Linked DNA regions of Homo sapiens: regions 1, 2, 3, 5 and 6 are each linked to region 4. Evidence: promoter capture Hi-C in 16 types of primary human blood cells and fetal thymus (Javierre and others, 2016). All regions are on one chromosome and are shown on one strand. Each heading gives the region's core, a stretch centred on a gene start or on the middle of the fragment in contact. The rest is flanking DNA. Distances are from core to core; before and after follow the strand shown. Region 1 overlaps PHACTR2 (phosphatase and actin regulator 2). Region 2 has its middle 52 kb from the start of PHACTR2-AS1. Region 3 has its middle 39 kb from the start of PHACTR2. Region 4 holds the start of LTV1 (LTV1 ribosome biogenesis factor). Region 5 has its middle 34 kb from the start of PHACTR2-AS1. Region 6 overlaps PHACTR2 (phosphatase and actin regulator 2).

Region 1 (2,700 bases), core at 2-2,501, 150 kb after region 4:
GACTGGCTAAGAAATCATTATCAAAGGGCCCTCTGTTTATTCTGCCCTTCCCTTTTAAAGATCTAGCAGGAACCTTATGCTCATTCCCTTTGCCTCTAGGACTGCAGTGCCCAGCAATGAAAATAAACCTGGACTGGCACTGCAAAACCACAAGCAATTAATTAAATCCTTATCAGTTATTTCCACTGTCTATAGTAAGACGCCATTTTTATGCCTTAGGGTATTGAATGTTGAATCTGAAATAGGGTCTTGGATCCAAGTGTTCTGTTCTCAACTTGGAAGAACACCAATATTCTATGACTTTTAACCTTCCTCAGATTGAGTGCTCAGCATATTCTAATCTGCAAGATGCCTTAAAAGTCTACAATGACAGAGTCACAACTAAAGGGTGTAGAGGTTTGGCTAAGAGCTTCTGCATGCCCTGATCCCCATGCCCAATCCATCATAATCTGGATTCGGATCAGGGCCTAAGAGAAGTGAGTCTTGTTTGCAGCCTTTGTAGAATGCTTGTATCTCGCCATCTCAAGGCAATTCCTGGTCCAAGAGATGCCTATAAAATTAAATAATTTCTGAGGTTTAAGGAGAGTTTTAATCATTTTACAAAAGGACCTAGGGTCACTAGATTCTGATGCACCCAATTCTTATTTGTGTGCTTAACCAGCTTGAGGGACCTTTTTCAATAAAATAAGGAATTTTGAACCTAGAGGAGGTGGGTGTGCTGTTGAAGCATTATCTTCACGTTGACAAGATAAGCAGTCCACCAAAACTGACTGCACCAGTTAAAAGTTTCCTGTGAGATTTACGAATTGATAGGAAGACATCATTGGAAGCCTGCTAGGTGGTTTACAATGCATATGGGCTAGAATACAAATGCAGTTAGTCGTAATGAATCATCTTCGAATTACCAACCTGTCTCAATGGGGCTCTGCGTTTTCTGGCAAGAACATTCTTGTTCTGACTTTACTTTGACAGGTGTTTAAACACCATCTTTCTTTAACACGCTTATTCATTTTCTTTCTTATTTTAGCAGCTCTTTGAAAAGAGACATGTCACCCTGCGGATTTCAAACACATCTAAGACAATGAAAGCATACAGAGCCAGCAAAACCAAACACAGAAAAGGAAGACTATATATGTAGTGACATTTGAGAACAAAACATTTCTCCAAATACAGGGCTTCACATTCAGGGCCCTCAAAGAAGATTATAAAACCAGTCAGGTGGCCACATTAGTTACTGACCACACTGGGATTAGGATCTTGATAAGTAGTTTGGGGGTTTCTTTCCTGAACATTACTCGATCAATTTGGTGCTCCAATCACAAGATACTGGTATTGATTTCTTACACAATGGCAGAAACATAATGTCACATATTCCATTTCTTTCTTTATTTATTTCCTTTTTTCTTCCTTCCTTTCCTTTCCCTCCCTTCCTTCCTTTTTTCCTTCCTCCTTCTACTTCTTCCTCCTTCCTTTCCTCCCTCCCTCCCTCCTTCCTTCCCTCCCCACTCCCTGTCGCAGGCCTTCCTTCCTTCCTTCCTTCCTTCTTTCCTTCCTTCTTCCCTCCCTTCCTTCTTTCCCTCCTTCCTTCTTTTTCTTTAAGATAGGGTCTCACTCTGTCTGTCACCCAGGCTGGAGTGCAGTGGTGTGATCAAGGATCACCACAGGCTTGATCTCCTGGGTTCGGGTGATCCTCCCATCTTGGACTCTTGGGTATCTGGGACTAGAGGTGCACACCACCACACCCACATAATTTTTTCTGTTCTTTGTATAGACGGGTTTCGCCACATTGCCCAGGCTGGTCATGAACACATATTCCATTTTCTAAATTTACCCCATATGCTCTACAGCCTATGCTTTACTTCCTAAGTGTACTGCCTAGTCACACTGGTTAATTTCCATTGCTGAAAATCACCTTCAATGCCTCCTCTTACTCAAGTAATATGAATATGGCACTGTTGAGGTGAGTGGGGAAGAGGCCTTAATTGGTTAAGAAATGAAACTCAAAAATCAGAAAAAAGACAATGGATGCAGTGTGCTTTGGGACATTGCTAATAAGTCCTGGTTTGTACATTGGTTTTAGGGACATTGCTTAAAGTCCTTAAATGGCCTATTTAAAAAATACAGAAAAAAGGGGCTGGGCACGGTGGCTCATGCCTGTAATCCCAGCACTTTGGGAGGCCAAGGCAGGTGGATCACCTGAGGTCAGGATTTCGAGACCAGCCTGGCCAACAGGGCGAAACCCCGTCTCTACTAAAAATACAAAAATTAGCCAGGTGTGGTGGTGCGTGCCTGTAGTCCCAGCTACTTGGGAGGCTGAGGCAGGAGAACCGCTGGAACCTGGGAAGTGGAGGTTGCAGTGAGCCAAGATCACACCACTGCACTCCAGCCTGGGTGATGGAGTAAGACTCCGTCTCAAAAAAATAAAAACAAAACAAAAACAAAAAAAGGACACTACTATGGGCTGAATTGTGTCCCTCAAAATTCATACGTTAAAGTCTTAACTCCCAGTACCTCAACATGGGACCATATTTGAATACAGGTCCTTTAAAAAAGTAAAATTAAGGTAAAATGAGGTCATATGGGTGGGCCCTACTCCAATGGGGTTCTTATAAGAGGAAAATATTTGAGCACAGATGTGTGTGGGCACAGAGGATGGACCATATGAGGACACAGAGGGAAGGCAGACATCTACAAGTTAAA
Region 2 (2,700 bases), core at 38-2,537, 220 kb after region 4:
ACTGTGTGCCACATCTGGGGTAGGACTAAGGAAACCAACGGTAAGGTAACATTGCCCTTGAGCAGTTTCCTGGCCAGTGGGGAGACCAGATGTACGCGAGGAGAACAGCACATTGCCAAGCAAAGCAGCAGGAACACACAGTACTTGGGATGAGAGGAAGAGTCTGGGGAGCTGGGACCTAGGACTACATGACCAGAGGTGGTGACAGTGCTGGTGACACAGGGGCCTTGTGTGACGTTTTGGGCTTGAATTTTATCCTGAGGTTTGGGCAGGATCTCTGGAGATTTCTAAATTGGATGATGAGGAAACATTAAAAGATATAACCTAGCTGTCCACCTCCATTATGTCAAGAACCAGGAAATCAACCGAACTGCAACTCGGCCCGAATAAATGTAAAAAATTCACAAACTCCAGCCCACACAAGTGAATCATACACTGCCCAAGGCCTCAGTGGGGTCTGTGTACTATCATTTTGAACAAAAGGATAACACTCTTGATTATTTGGTTTCCCAGACCACACACACAAAAAGAAGAAAACAGCAGATTAGAAGGAGGGAGATGGGAGCTGCCAGAAGCAAGTGCACAACAGCAAAATGTGAGAGGTGAGCAAGGCAGGAACTCAGGGAGCCAGAGCAGGGGGACCTGGGGCCAAGTGATCACCTTGGGAGGTAGCTGAGAGGAAGAAATGAGCTACTGTTCGCAAAGATTTAAAGTCCACGTAGGTGCAAAATGAATCTATGTTACATAATACTTACTACTCAAGCCAAGTACAATCAACCCTAAACTACAGATGAGGAAAGTGAGGCTCATGGATATGCCCAAGGCCCCATACCAGCAGGTAGAACAGGCTCAGCCAGGAACTGCATTCTTCTTTTACAACTCTAATTCCATTCCTTTGCACAATCCCACACTATTCAAGGGTTGGGGTATGTTCAATTTGAGAAAGCCAGTAAATGTGATTAAATATAAGAAAGAGTTGCAATTTAATGATTCTCATGCAAAATACCAATTAAAATAAAGCGTTGGTGCTTGACAGGTGAGCTTCCTTGTAGCTGCTGGCTTCCCAAGTCCTGTGCTACTCTAGAGAGAGAGGCAGGAACTATGGGAAGGATTTGCCCTTCTGCACCGAGGAGGCCTGAGAGGGCTCGGGATCCACAGGAACTCATTCGCGCCCTCCTGAGTTTTCTTTGTTGTCAATTCACACCAAATTGAAGAAGCCAGAATGAAACCTGTGGGGGCCTCCTGATGTTTTCTGTAGACCCGTTTCATAAGCCAGGTGTCTACCTTGGTCTCTCCCTATAATCTGTCCACATTCCCTACCCAATCCTCCAATCCCTTCTCTGAAACTGGATTTCCAAGCTCAGTCTCTGTGTGAAAATGCTAAGGCTTCTTTAATGATCCTGCTCTTGTTCTTTTCCTGGAGGTTTGCACTGTCCCCCATCTGCTGCCCACCTGCCATATAAGTATATGCCCTGCATATGTGGGCTCCACTAATTAATGAGCCTCTATTGGAATTTCCAGCTGATTTCCAGTCCCTGATCACCTGGTTGCATATCCTAGTACAGAGAGCTTCAACATAGCTGATGGGGACAGTTGTGTTTTGTGACCAAAACTGTGACCAAAGCCTGTCCTCCAGTGAGACAGCCTTTGAGGCCAGGGCAAATACAACCACATTTCCCTAAAAACAATATTGCATGCGTCCCAAAGGGTAAACTGTGCCTGGCTTTCCCCCTGCATAAAAGCCAATGGAAATCACATTTGGCATGGCCTATGCCTTGTGGGTTGGCCGATGGCCAAGCATATACTCAAGCAGACATGGATTTTATATGTCAGGGCAACATTTTTTATGTGCAGTTAAGCTGTGCATGAGGCTGCTGTCTGAAAAAATAAATAAATAAACTTCTCTGCCTTAGTTTCATATCTATAAAAGCAGAACTGATGATTTGAAGTATTTACATAATTCACCGGAGAACTGTGAGAAACAAGCTATATTTGTAAGCATTTTTGAAGATGAGAGGAATTTGGTGAAGTATGTACAGCATTTTTTTTTTCCAAAAAAAAAAAACTTCATTTCTTACTAGCCCTGCATTGAAAACATAATTTTCTGGGACATGATTTTGTTTTACAGTAACCCAGGTGCTCAAGGGTACTTTGGGAGTTTTTGTAGTTTCGAGGTTCCATGAAAACCTTCCCTGAGACAGCTAAAGACAAAGCCCACATCTGTTAGTATAAGAGACACCTTTGTTTATGGAGCATTAGGGCTGTGACAAAAAGACTGACATAAGCCAGGATATTTAGAAGTTAAAGCTGGAGCTTTATTCTAAATGTATGCTACAGAGCTCCTGGTTTTCCACGAAGTCTGGATTTTAAAAACAAAGTTGGCTTTAATTTTCAACTATCTGGCTTTTTTCAACTATCGTCACAGTCATACAGTTATTTAAACAAATGTCTTTGAACTTCCTTAACTTAAAAAAGTGACCCTAAGGTTAATGAATGTTGTGAAATGCTTACTGTTTGAACAAATGAACTGACCCCCCACCCCCGACCGAGTGACATGTTCTGTAAGTACCACAAGCAAGCATGATCGGCGCTGTGAAGACTATAGAATCTCACACAGGGGACCTAAGATATTTTCACTCTTTATACCATACTGACCGCTGTCAAAGTTTGGGACTGGCTATATTTCCTTTTATCCCCTTA
Region 3 (2,700 bases), core at 63-2,562, 200 kb after region 4:
ACTTATATACAACTGGCAGTGCAGTAGGTTTGTTTACACCAGCATCAGCACAAACTTGTGAGTAAAGCATTTGCACTATGACAGCACAACAACTGTGACATCACTAGGTTATAGGAATTCTTCAACTCTATTACAGTTACACAGAATTACCATCATATATGTGGCCCACTGTTGGCAGAAACATCATTATGTAGCACATGACTCTATTAATAACAAGTTGTTATTCCTTGCTTCCTCCAGCTTCTGGAGGCTAGGAACCAGAACACATTATCTTTAGAGTAGTTATGTTGACTTCTAATTTCATTGCACTACAGTGAGAAAATGTAATGCAAATCAAATCACCCTTCAGTGGTTCTTAAAACTTCTTTTGTGACTGTGTAAATAGTCAATATTTGTGTATGTTTCATATTTGCCTAAGAGGAATGAATATCTACTTGTTGTGTGCAGAGTTCTTGATCAATTACATCAAGCTTGTCAACTGTCTTGCTCAAACCATCGCTATCCTTACTCATGATGGGGTATGCTAATCCATCATCAAAGGGAGAGTTAGTAATCCCTCCCGCTATAATCAGGCTTTCTCACTCCCAAACCTAAAGACTTTTCCCCAGCACAATTAATTCTTTTTGAATGGGCCAAATGTCATCTAGATGCCAAAAGTAAAAATAGGTGATCTACATAAGCAGAAAACAAAAGTGTGAATTAAAAATAAGAATTATTTTGCTTGTGTCACTTATAAAATGGCTCTGAATATGCTTTCACTTAGTAATTTTTGAAATGTTTTGAGCAATGATAGCCTTGATGGCATAAACACTAACTCCCAACGTGATTTAAAGATTAAATCACTATATAAAGTTCTGTTACATTTGTTTTACAACATTACATTGCTATAGGTATATCTTACCATTAATTTGTTTTGGAAAGACAGACTGTACTTCAGGTACTTTGCAGCAATTGTCATTTTATGAAGCATGTCATTGGTGGCTCATGAAAGCAGAAAGATGTAATGATTCAAAAATAATTCAGAAGAATATTGGACACTGTTAAAAAATTATGCATAAGTATGTAGATTCATCTGACTTTATCAGCCCTTGGCTGAGGCTTTTGATGCTACACTGAATAATTTTATTGCCTGACAACTGGGCAAAGAGAAAATGATCATTAAGGAGATAATGTCATTCATAGTTTTGGGGAAGCTACGAACACTCTAAATTACAATTTTTAGACAGAATAAATTTTGTAAACTACTGATTATTAAGGACAAATATGCAATTGGGCAGGAAAATTGACAGAGTAGAACAAAGGAATTTATCTATATTGCTAGAAAGAGCAATGGACAAGACACATGTACTTCCCTATATGCAAGAAGCATTGTCTGTGGATTTACTATTCTTAAAATATTTGAAGGAAAAGTATGATGAATCTGCCTGCTAACATTCATCTTCTAACTTCACTGCCCTTTTTTAAAAGTATGTATTTAGCATTTTTTCTTAAGCAAATATACATTTGGGGTGTTTAATGCTTAATATAAAATGAAAAATTAGCTCAAAACTTGGATAGCTGGGTGTGTGTGTGTGTGTGTGTGTGTATGTGTGTGTGTGTAATACTTTTTTTTTTTTTTGAGACAAGGTCTTGCTCTGTGGCCCAGGCTGGAGTGCAGTGGTATGATCATAGTCACTGCAGCCTTGAACTCCTGGGCTCAAGCAATCCTCCCATCTCAGCCTCCTGAGTAGCTGGGACTATGGGCATGCACCACCATGCCCAGCTAATCTTTTAATTATTATTTTTGTATAGACGGGGTCTTGCTATGTTGCCCAGGCTGGTTTCAAACTCCTGGCCTAAAGTGATCCTCCCACCTTGGCTTCCCAAAGTGCTGGGATGATAGGCATGAGCCACTGCACCTGGCATTCCTCTGCTTCTTTTTAAGCCATAGCGATCACTGAATTTGTAACTGCCAATCAAGCTCTCAGCAATACTATAACTTAAGTCTCTATTTGCTACAAGGAAGACCTTAGTATTTGTGGTTTCTGTCTATATTTACTGAAATAATTCATCAACTACACACTAAAAATATTATTGTAACCTTGCTCTGGAATCATTAGATTGTTTTTACCAGAAATGCTATTGCTTTTGTTTGAAATTGACATGAAAGCTTTGTGGTGGACTGACACTTAGATGATCCCCCCATGATCACTGCCTCCTGGTGTTCAAGCCTTTGTGTAATCCTCTCCCTTTAAGTATGGGTGGGACCTGTGTCTTGTTTCTAACAACTAGAACATAGCAAAGGTGACGGGATGTCACTCCCATGACTATGTTATCACGTTTGCCAAAGGCGAAGGGATGTTTCTCCTGTGATTGTATTATGTTATAAAAGACTCCCATTGCTACAGCAGATTTGCATTAGAGCCTTGCTCTCCTTGCTGGCTTTGAAGAAGCAAGCTGCCATGAGTGCTGCAGCTGCAAAGAACTGACTCTGCTAACATGGGACCAGTCCCTTTTCCCCAGTCAAGCCTCCACATGAGGACTGTGTCCTGCCCAACACCTAAAGTGTAGCCTTGCAGAAGACCCAGCTAAGTTGTGCCTGAACTCCTGACCCATACAAGCTGTGACATAGTTAATATGTGTTGTGTTAAGCTGCTAAATTTGTGATAATTTGTTATGCAACATAGAAAATGAATATACTTCAATTTCGCAAAGTCTTAC
Region 4 (2,700 bases), core at 86-2,585:
GAAAAAAAAAACTATTGTCTACCTACAAACTGACTGGCTAAAGAACAGGACCTACTTTTTGTGTGGGCAATAGAACCCTCTGGGGTGCACTCTCATCTGCTGCTAAAGGATCTCGTTGGCTCCGGTGGACCAAGTGAAAAGACACAGCTTTCTTCTTCTCTATAAAGGGCTTTTTCTTCCTGTGAGGCTTCAAAGGAACAAAATCACAACAATTAATTAAAACAGAACAAAAAGACGGAGAATAATTCCATAGTCCACACATGCATCTTTAGTAGTCATGTTAAAGATACTTTTTAAAAATCTACACTTCTAGGGCAGGCAACATCAGCTGTGTTCTGCAGAATCCATACTTAACCTTCCTTCAACAAACATTCCTTGAGCACCTACTTTGTGCCAGACCTTGTTATGGGAACTGAGAATACAGAAGTGGGAAAGTCAGATAAAGTCCCTGTTCTTAGCAAGAAAATCAAGATAATTTCCGGTGAAGAAAATATAAGACAGTGACGTGAAAATGCCTTAAAAGCTACTTTACACTGGCTGCTCAGGGAAGGCCCCTGGCCGACTGAACTAGAATGACAAGAAGCCTGCCACAACATAATCTGGAGTAGACAGCTCCACACAGAGCATCTACCAACCAGTAAATAAAATCACGACACAAACAGCTAAAGTTTAATAAGATCCATCACCTCTTTCTACATTCTTACTTCGCTATTCAATTTTGATTCTCTAAACTGGGAAACCAATTAAGTGGCTTTACTTTGGGCCCAACCTTATGCTCTCCCACAAGTTCCCTTTCTCAGAGGAAACAGACAGGCAGACACCTGCCACTCCAACGCTGAGGGAGACCAGCAGCTCCCTCTGCTCGACCCCAAGAAGCACAGGGTTGCGCGTTTGTGTCGGCAGTCACCAGCTTTTAGTTAACCGAAATCACGCAGGGCTGCAGGCTCCCAGGGATAAAACAAAAAGGCCATTCTCCTCTCCGGGCCACATCCCAGGGAGGCTCGGCGGTGGGAGACTGTAACTTGCAAAGAATGCCCACGGTGGTGACGTTGGCCCATTTCGGGGTACCGTGCCGCAAGCAGCCTCTGGCATGACCCAGACCCGGGCCGCAGTAGCCAAGGTATTACCGGAAGCAGCCTGGCCTCTGCAAAACCACAGCGCTCGGCCGCCGAAACAAGCAAGGCTTGCTCACCATGCTGCAGCCGCGCGGCGCTCACCCCCAACAGGGGCGGCGATGACACCCTCGAAGTCCGGCGGGGAGACCAAGGTCCAGCTGAAGGCCGCTTCTGTAGGCCTCACCACACGTGCAGCCCCAGGACCCGGCGATAACGTCACCCAGCCGGCCGTGGAAACGGACCAATCGCCGAGGAGCTGATGGGTCGCGACCGGAAGTTACATAGGCTCGCTGCGTCTCCACGATCGCGAGAAGCCACCGGGAGGTGGGGCTAGCTCGGCTCCCACCCCTGGGCGGGCTGTACTTTTCCGGCCTTTAGTCTCCCGCCGGGCAAAGGGAATCGTGGGGGTCCTTAACGTTGAGGCGCCACAGAGGGGTTTCTGCTTGTGGACGAACCTTTTATAGCTCCCTCTACGGAGACCAGAGGGGACGAATCTAGCATCCCCCTTGACTTGTGTCCCTTACCTATTCCCAACCATAAAAAACAAAGCCGCGGACACGGAAGGGAGGCGACCACCCCGCTGGGGTGCTGGGGTCGCCAAGTTTCAGGTTCCCTCTCCGGGTGGGGGCGGAGTCGGTTGCCGTAGCAACGGAGGCTGGGGCCTTGCCTTTATAGACTGCATCAGACTTGATCAGGTTATATTTTCCACTGTTTCATGAACTGCTTTCATCTGCCCTGTTAACCAAACCCCCGAGACTCTGTTAACTGTAGAGGCATTTGAACTAATAAAATATATTCAGAATCTCTGGTGTTTGAATGTTAACTTTCTCCCCCTGTTTAAACAAATAGGCTATAAGCACGCATTCTTAGGAAGATTTCAGGCCGGCGTTGGCGTACTCACATAGCTTTTCTTGGACGAAAGTGTGTGGTAAATGCAGTCACTTTCATCAGCAGACCTTTTTTTCAAATTTGTTTCCCCAACTTCCCAGTTTCTGGTGACCTCTCAATGAATGGCTTACCCTGGATTGTGTCTTTATGCCGTAGGCATTATCACTGTAAGTATTTGTGGAGTATTATTCTTTTATTACAGTAAAAATTATAGAAATAGGCCAGGCGCGGTGGCTCATGTCTGTCATCCCAGCACTTTGGGAGGCCGAAGCGGGTGGATCACCTGAGGTCAGGAGTTCAAGACCAGACTAGCCAACGTGGTGAAACCCCGTCTCTACTAAAAATACAAAACTTAGCCAGGTGTGATGGCAGGTGCCTGTAATCCCAACTACTTGGGAGGTTGAGGCAGGAGAATAGCTTGAACCCGGGAGGCAGAGGTTGCAGTGAGCTGAGATCATGCCATTGCACTCCAGCCTGGGCGACAAGAGCGAAACTCTGTCTCAAAAATATATATATATAGAAATAATTTAGGTTAGGACCATAAAACTTGTCTTAGGATATTGCTTTGTAACAGAGATAATACATAGCACTCCTATGTGCCAGAGATTCGTTGTTATTATTCATTATATAGAATTAAAAGATCCAAGGGGGCAGTTTTCATTTCCTTTCAATCAGTTGTACTTACTGCTGTATCATC
Region 5 (2,700 bases), core at 122-2,621, 240 kb after region 4:
ACTGGGTCACATTACTTCTTAACTTTCCTACGAGAAGCTCTCACTTATTGGAAGCACAGAGAAGAACTGATGGCAATAGGTGGCAATAATACTCTGCCTTTCCTAACTGAAATTCGAGCCCAGGGGGATAAAGGCCAGTTCAGATGGATTCTATGGAGAAAAAGAGCAGAAACACCACTCCAAGGGGCAGAGAGACTCCAAAATCACAGGCTAAAAAGAACATAGTTTTACTTTTAGAGGATGAATTGGAATCCTTTCTTACAAGATCAGGCTCTGTTTCTCAGGATGGAGAAGTAAAAGAGTAAACTGTCCACGTAATTAGATTGCTTGGTCCAGTAGATCTCTTGGATACTCAAATGGGCCTATCTGACTATTTCAACCTTTTGAGTTTCTGATTCATCCAAAGAATCAGAACATTGACTACCAATGAGAAAGCTTGCTCCCTATTCATTTTGGAACATATTCTACTGAAAGTGTCTTCTTTTCTTTTCTCTTTTTTTTTTTTTTTTTTGAATCAGAGTCTCTCTCTGTCACCAGGCTGGAGTGCAGTGGCATGATCTCGGCTCACTGCAACCTCTGCCTCCCGGGTTCAAGTGATTCTCGAGCCTCAGTTCCTGGATAGCTGGGGTTACAGGCACCTGTCACCATGCCCAGGTAACTTTTTGTATTTTTAGTAGAGACAGTGTTTCACCATGTTGGCCAGGTTGTCTTGAACTCCTGACCTCAAGTGATCCACCCACCTCGGTCTCTCAAAGTGCTGGGATTACAGGCATGAGCCACCCCACCCAGCTGAAAATCTCTTCTAAAAACATTTGAGCCACTGCTTTTACAAATACAGCTATCAAATAGTTTTGACAAGCAAAATGCTTGGATATATAGCTCTCCAAGGTACTAAACCAAATCCCTGAACTATTAACCAAAAACAGTTGATAGGAGAAAGTTTTGCAACAGATAGTGTTTCCAGGAAGATCTGGGCAAGAAAGATTATACATTTATCCAATGTTCTACTATGTGGATTTTAGGCCAATGCTATTTGACATGACTGTTTTCTATTCTGCCTAACTATTCTCCTTTTGAGGTTTCTCTTCTGATGTAAGGTGTGGGGAGGGGTCTCCTGAATTTCTGGATAACGTTTGCTTCTCTTCCCTTATTCATGGTCCTTGGAGTGTGCCTGATACCTCTTTTTTTTTTTTTAAGGCAGAGCAACATACACTGCTCCTTGGCTATAATTTTTTTCCCTGTTATATTCAAAGTTGAGTCCAATCCCTCTCCCCGACTGCAAAATCCCATGGCAGTGGTCCCTATACCTATTGCAATGGTCCCAAATAAAACCTGCCTTACCGTGCTTGAACAAGTGTCATCGAATAATTTTTTAACAGCAAATTGTTGGAGGTAAAGACATTTTTAAATGTCTTCAATTAGTTTAGCTACTTCCAAGTATTTTTTTTTTTTTTTTTTTTTTGAGACAGAGTCTTGCTCTTGTCACCCAGGCTAGAGTGCAGTGGTGCAATCTTGGCTCACTGCAGCCTCCGTCTCATGGATTCTAGCAGTTCTCCTGTCTCAGCCTCCTGAGTAGCTGGGATTACAGGCATGCACCACCATGTCTGGCTAGTTTTTGTATTTTTAGTAGAGACGGGGTTTTGCCATGTTGGCCAGGCTGGTCTCAAACTCCTGACCACGGGTGATCTGCCCACCTCGGCCTCCCAAAGTGCTGGGGTTACAGGCATGAGCCACTGTGCCCAGCCCACACTTACCCTCTTTACCATCTTAATGCAGAGGCTGTGAAACTTTTCTGCACATCCAGATTGCCTGGTGTCTGGACCTTACATAAGGCAACATCCATCAGACACAGTCTTCCGACAAGTTTGGACTTTTGGCCAAGGTGGTTTGGTGAATCCACACTTGGACAACACCCCACTGCTCCAAACACATAGCAATGATAGATAAAATATTAAATAGGTAAATCACAGCTAGGCACAAGAAGCTAGCTGACCATTTCGATGAATGAGCAGGGAGCCAAAAGCTGAAGGCTGTGGGTGAGGTTTCTGCAATGTCCTGCTGTACCCAAGGGACAAAAGCAGAGGTCAAGGCCAGATGCGCAGCTCCTATGTAGTAATGGCTCTAAAAGAGCTCCACATGAGAAAGGAGCAATCAGAGCCAGGCTCTGCTTGAATGGAGAGTCCTGGCTCAAGAAATGAGGTTGGAAAAACAAATGGCTGATGCCTTAGTTCCAGGAGCCATGGCTTTATAAAGCCTTGAGGGGCAGGGAGAGGATAAGTCTTCATAATCAATAATTAACTAAGCTTCACGTGGGTCCCTAAATACTGGATCGGCAGTATGCCCTCAAAATTGAGCAGAAATTTCCTCAAGATGTCATTAGAAAACCTGACTAGATGGGAAGGTTAGAGGGACAAGGTGGAGATGACTTCAAAACCATAAAACTATTAGGGAGGGGGAGAGCGAGAGTGAAAACAAAACTAAAGGAACTAATGTTAGGCAGCACAATGAGGTGACTATAGTTAACAATCGTATTTTATATTTCAAAATAACTAAAAGAGTGGAATTGGAATGTTCCTAACATAAAAAATGATAAATGCTTGAGGCAATGAATATCTCCATTACCTTGATTTGGTCATTACAAGTTGTATGATTGCATCAAAATATCAGATGTAACCCATATGTATAACTATTATGTATCAA
Region 6 (2,700 bases), core at 97-2,596, 130 kb after region 4:
CAAAGCAACAGAAGGGCTAAGGCACATAGCAACCTTCCTGCTGGGGGTTAGGGGTGATGAGAAGAAGAAGAGAAAAGGCAAAAGAGAGAAAGAGAAGTCAAAGACAAACAAGACAATGGTAGCTTTTGTAAATTAAGGAAGAGGTATTTTGGACATTAAGGCAGGACTGACTGTTCAGTAATGGAAAATGTTGTAGAGGTTGAAATGAATGAAAATAAGAGAACGACACTAAATTTAATGGTTCGGAGGCTTGGAGTAACCTCGGTGAATACAGGACACAGAGATAGATTGCAGTGGGAAAAGGAATGAGAATGTGGGAAGAAAGAAAGTAGAGGCAGCAGAGATAGGTTAGATTTTCAGTAAGTTTGGTTTTGATGGTAATACACTGTGATAAGTTAGAGAAACAACTGTGTTTATTTAGGCAGGGCATTTGTACTCTTAGCTTTGGGGAGATACAAGCATATATAAAAATCCAAAGGAAGGATGTTTATATCCTCACCTCCCACCAAATCAAATCAAATCAAAGCAAAATGGGAAAAAATGATTATGTAGGGGAAAAAAAGATGTAAATGCCATTTTGAGTTCTAACAATAGGGAAGGGATAGAAGAACCTAGAGCTTACGTGGGACCTCTCATGCAGGAGAAGAAAAGAAATGAAGGGGGGTATCTGAGAGAAGTGGACGGAAAAGAGATCTATTCTCCTGCCCTAGAATCTAACAGCCAGACACTGAACAGCCTAAATCAGAGTTGAAGATATTGGAAACTTTCTGCTTTAAAACAAGGCCAGAGAACTGGAAGCTGGGGCATAAGCCCAGCCTGCCTTATAGGGCAAGATGTCCTTTAGACGTAGAATGAGCACTCCAAAATACAACTGATTCAAGGACCACCAAAACTGGCCACGAATGGGACCCTTCTTAACTCCCACTACAATAATAAACATGCTATTACAATGCATTAATAAATTAGTGTTACATCCTATCTACTACCAATTAAGAATTCCTATAACAGAAACCCATACCAGGAAAAGTGGTATTTATCGCTGTGCGGCAGAACACAATAAGGTTCATATCCATGTGAATACCAACCCAGGAGTTTAAGAGAAGGACAAACGTAGAAGAGTTACTTTTCTTGGAAGAAATGAACTTTCTTTTATACCTCAAGATGTTGTGGGTCTGGCCTAAGGTGTACTTCATTGATTATCAGACAGCAAATGGCCCTGATCATATCCAAACAGCTTGATTCCACTGCTTGAGATAATTTTTTAAAGAAGAAAATAACTTTCTCTTGGTTATATCCAAATATTAGTTTTGTGCAAAAGTAATTGCGGTTTTTTGCCACTAAAAGTAATGGCAAAAATCGCAACTACTTTTGCACCAACTGAATATATCAGTTTTCCTCTAGATATGACATCTTTCTCCAATGTGAAAAAAACTAATGTATGATACACCATTTTGTATCTTATGTTCGTTTTCGTACGTTACGTCTGGAGCCCTGCTCCCATCTTGGGTAGTCTTGGTAACGTGAAGAGCCAGATTCTCCCAATGCTTAAGCACATGTGAGAGGGAGGCACTTGAAGAAGGCCAGTGAGGTTCCTTCCACAACCAAAAAACAGAGGAGAACAAGATGCCCAGCCAGGGACTGGAAGGAGTCAAGGGTGTAAGGGTGTCTCTGGAGACCAACAACAGAATCAGGAACTGAAGCACCTCCGAGTTTAGCACATTCAACTACCCGATTTTGCAGGCGAGAAAACTGAGGCTGATCTGACCTGTTCAAAGTCACCCAGCCGGGTGTCCTCACACAGCACAGCACCCTGTCCCTCACCTCTCACTGCCTCCTAACCCAGAAAGCCACTTAGGTGCTGAAGAGGACCCAATAACCAAACTAGCATTATTTTCCCTTAAGCCAAGTTTCTCTTCTTTCTCTATCTTTTTATTACAGAAATTTTCCAATATCTATAAGCAGAGAAATGAGAATAATAACCACCATGGACCCATTGCCCAGCTTGAACAACCCATTGCCAGTCTTCCTTTATCTATAATCTTACCTACCTCACACTCCTCCAGGATTATTTTGAAACAAATTCCAGGTAGCCTATCATTATTTCTTGTTAAATATAAAATGCTCAAATAAACTATATAGCTGCAAATGCATCCGAGACCACTTTTTTGGGGAGCTTTGATGCTCCTATTCCATATCCTTGCATTGTGTGTAGTATTTTTAATTTCATTTCACAGCTCTAGAACAAAACTCTGGTTCTTATCTTAGTACAGACCAATAAGATATGCTCTGTGACCCTGTACATCCACTAACAATATTAGACTGTGGTGCAGTGAGGAATTTTGATGAAGGGATTGCCTTGGACAGTAAGCATGGGGAACGTTGAACTTACTAAACACTTTTCTATCTTAGACACAATACACTCACACTAACACTTGTTTAAATTGGGCTGAATTCTGGCCTGAGATTTAAAGCCAGCTTTGTCCACGAGTTGATATGAAAGGCACTAAGCAATGTAACTTTTAAGGTTTCACAAATCTACAAACTAAATTAACAATCAAACATTTTCACACCAATAGGGTTGTGCCTCTACTCTCTTAAGACAGAGACCATTTATTTGTCCTAAGGATATGATAGAAATCTAAAATCAAATATAACAAAACTTTTCTTTCATATAGCCACTAAAATCTTTCCTAAAGAATA

What was found. Contacts are between HindIII fragments. The CHiCAGO score rates a contact against its expected background, and 5 or more counts as called.
Region 1: a fragment that was not itself captured here is called in contact with the fragment with the promoter of LTV1 in region 4 in 1 of 17 cell types (erythroblasts); the score reaches 5.3 in erythroblasts.
Region 2: a fragment that was not itself captured here is called in contact with the fragment with the promoter of LTV1 in region 4 in 2 of 17 cell types (erythroblasts and M1 macrophages); the score reaches 7.1 in erythroblasts.
Region 3: a contact is called between a fragment that was not itself captured here and the fragment with the promoter of LTV1 in region 4, in 2 of 17 cell types (megakaryocytes and erythroblasts). The highest score is 6.2, in megakaryocytes.
Region 5: a fragment that was not itself captured here is called in contact with the fragment with the promoter of LTV1 in region 4 in 4 of 17 cell types (erythroblasts, megakaryocytes, M2 macrophages and 1 more); the score reaches 7.2 in erythroblasts.
Region 6: a fragment that was not itself captured here is called in contact with the fragment with the promoter of LTV1 in region 4 in 1 of 17 cell types (erythroblasts); the score reaches 5.3 in erythroblasts.

Annotation. Positions count from the first base shown.
Region 1 is chr6:143,692,970-143,695,669 of GRCh38, reverse strand. The region is part of intron 1 of PHACTR2 (phosphatase and actin regulator 2); the gene reads right to left. Among named protein-coding and RNA genes, the nearest start is that of PHACTR2, 16 kb to the right of the region's middle. The HindIII fragment of the contact is 4,723 bases long and covers 1-2,700 here.
Region 2 is chr6:143,619,797-143,622,496 of GRCh38, reverse strand. It overlaps a transcript of PHACTR2 not described here. Among named protein-coding and RNA genes, the nearest start is that of PHACTR2-AS1, 52 kb to the right of the region's middle. The HindIII fragment of the contact is 8,835 bases long and covers 1-2,700 here.
Region 3 is chr6:143,637,462-143,640,161 of GRCh38, reverse strand. It overlaps a transcript of PHACTR2 not described here. Among named protein-coding and RNA genes, the nearest start is that of PHACTR2, 39 kb to the left of the region's middle. RefSeq lists an enhancer at 2,054-2,597. The HindIII fragment of the contact is 1,679 bases long and covers 473-2,151 here.
Region 4 is chr6:143,841,973-143,844,672 of GRCh38, reverse strand. It overlaps LTV1 (LTV1 ribosome biogenesis factor), which reads right to left and starts at 1,335. Exons shown (of 11, transcript NM_032860.5): 1 at 1,193-1,335; 2 at 56-187. The coding sequence starts at 1,195. RefSeq lists enhancers at 832-901, 1,092-1,301, 1,482-1,531. The HindIII fragment of the contact is 13,446 bases long and covers 1-2,700 here.
Region 5 is chr6:143,601,908-143,604,607 of GRCh38, reverse strand. It overlaps a transcript of PHACTR2 not described here. Among named protein-coding and RNA genes, the nearest start is that of PHACTR2-AS1, 34 kb to the right of the region's middle. RefSeq lists a silencer at 830-1,030. The HindIII fragment of the contact is 1,868 bases long and covers 438-2,305 here.
Region 6 is chr6:143,712,684-143,715,383 of GRCh38, reverse strand. All of the region lies in intron 2 of PHACTR2 (phosphatase and actin regulator 2), which reads right to left. Among named protein-coding and RNA genes, the nearest start is that of PHACTR2, 36 kb to the right of the region's middle. The HindIII fragment of the contact is 4,013 bases long and covers 1-2,700 here.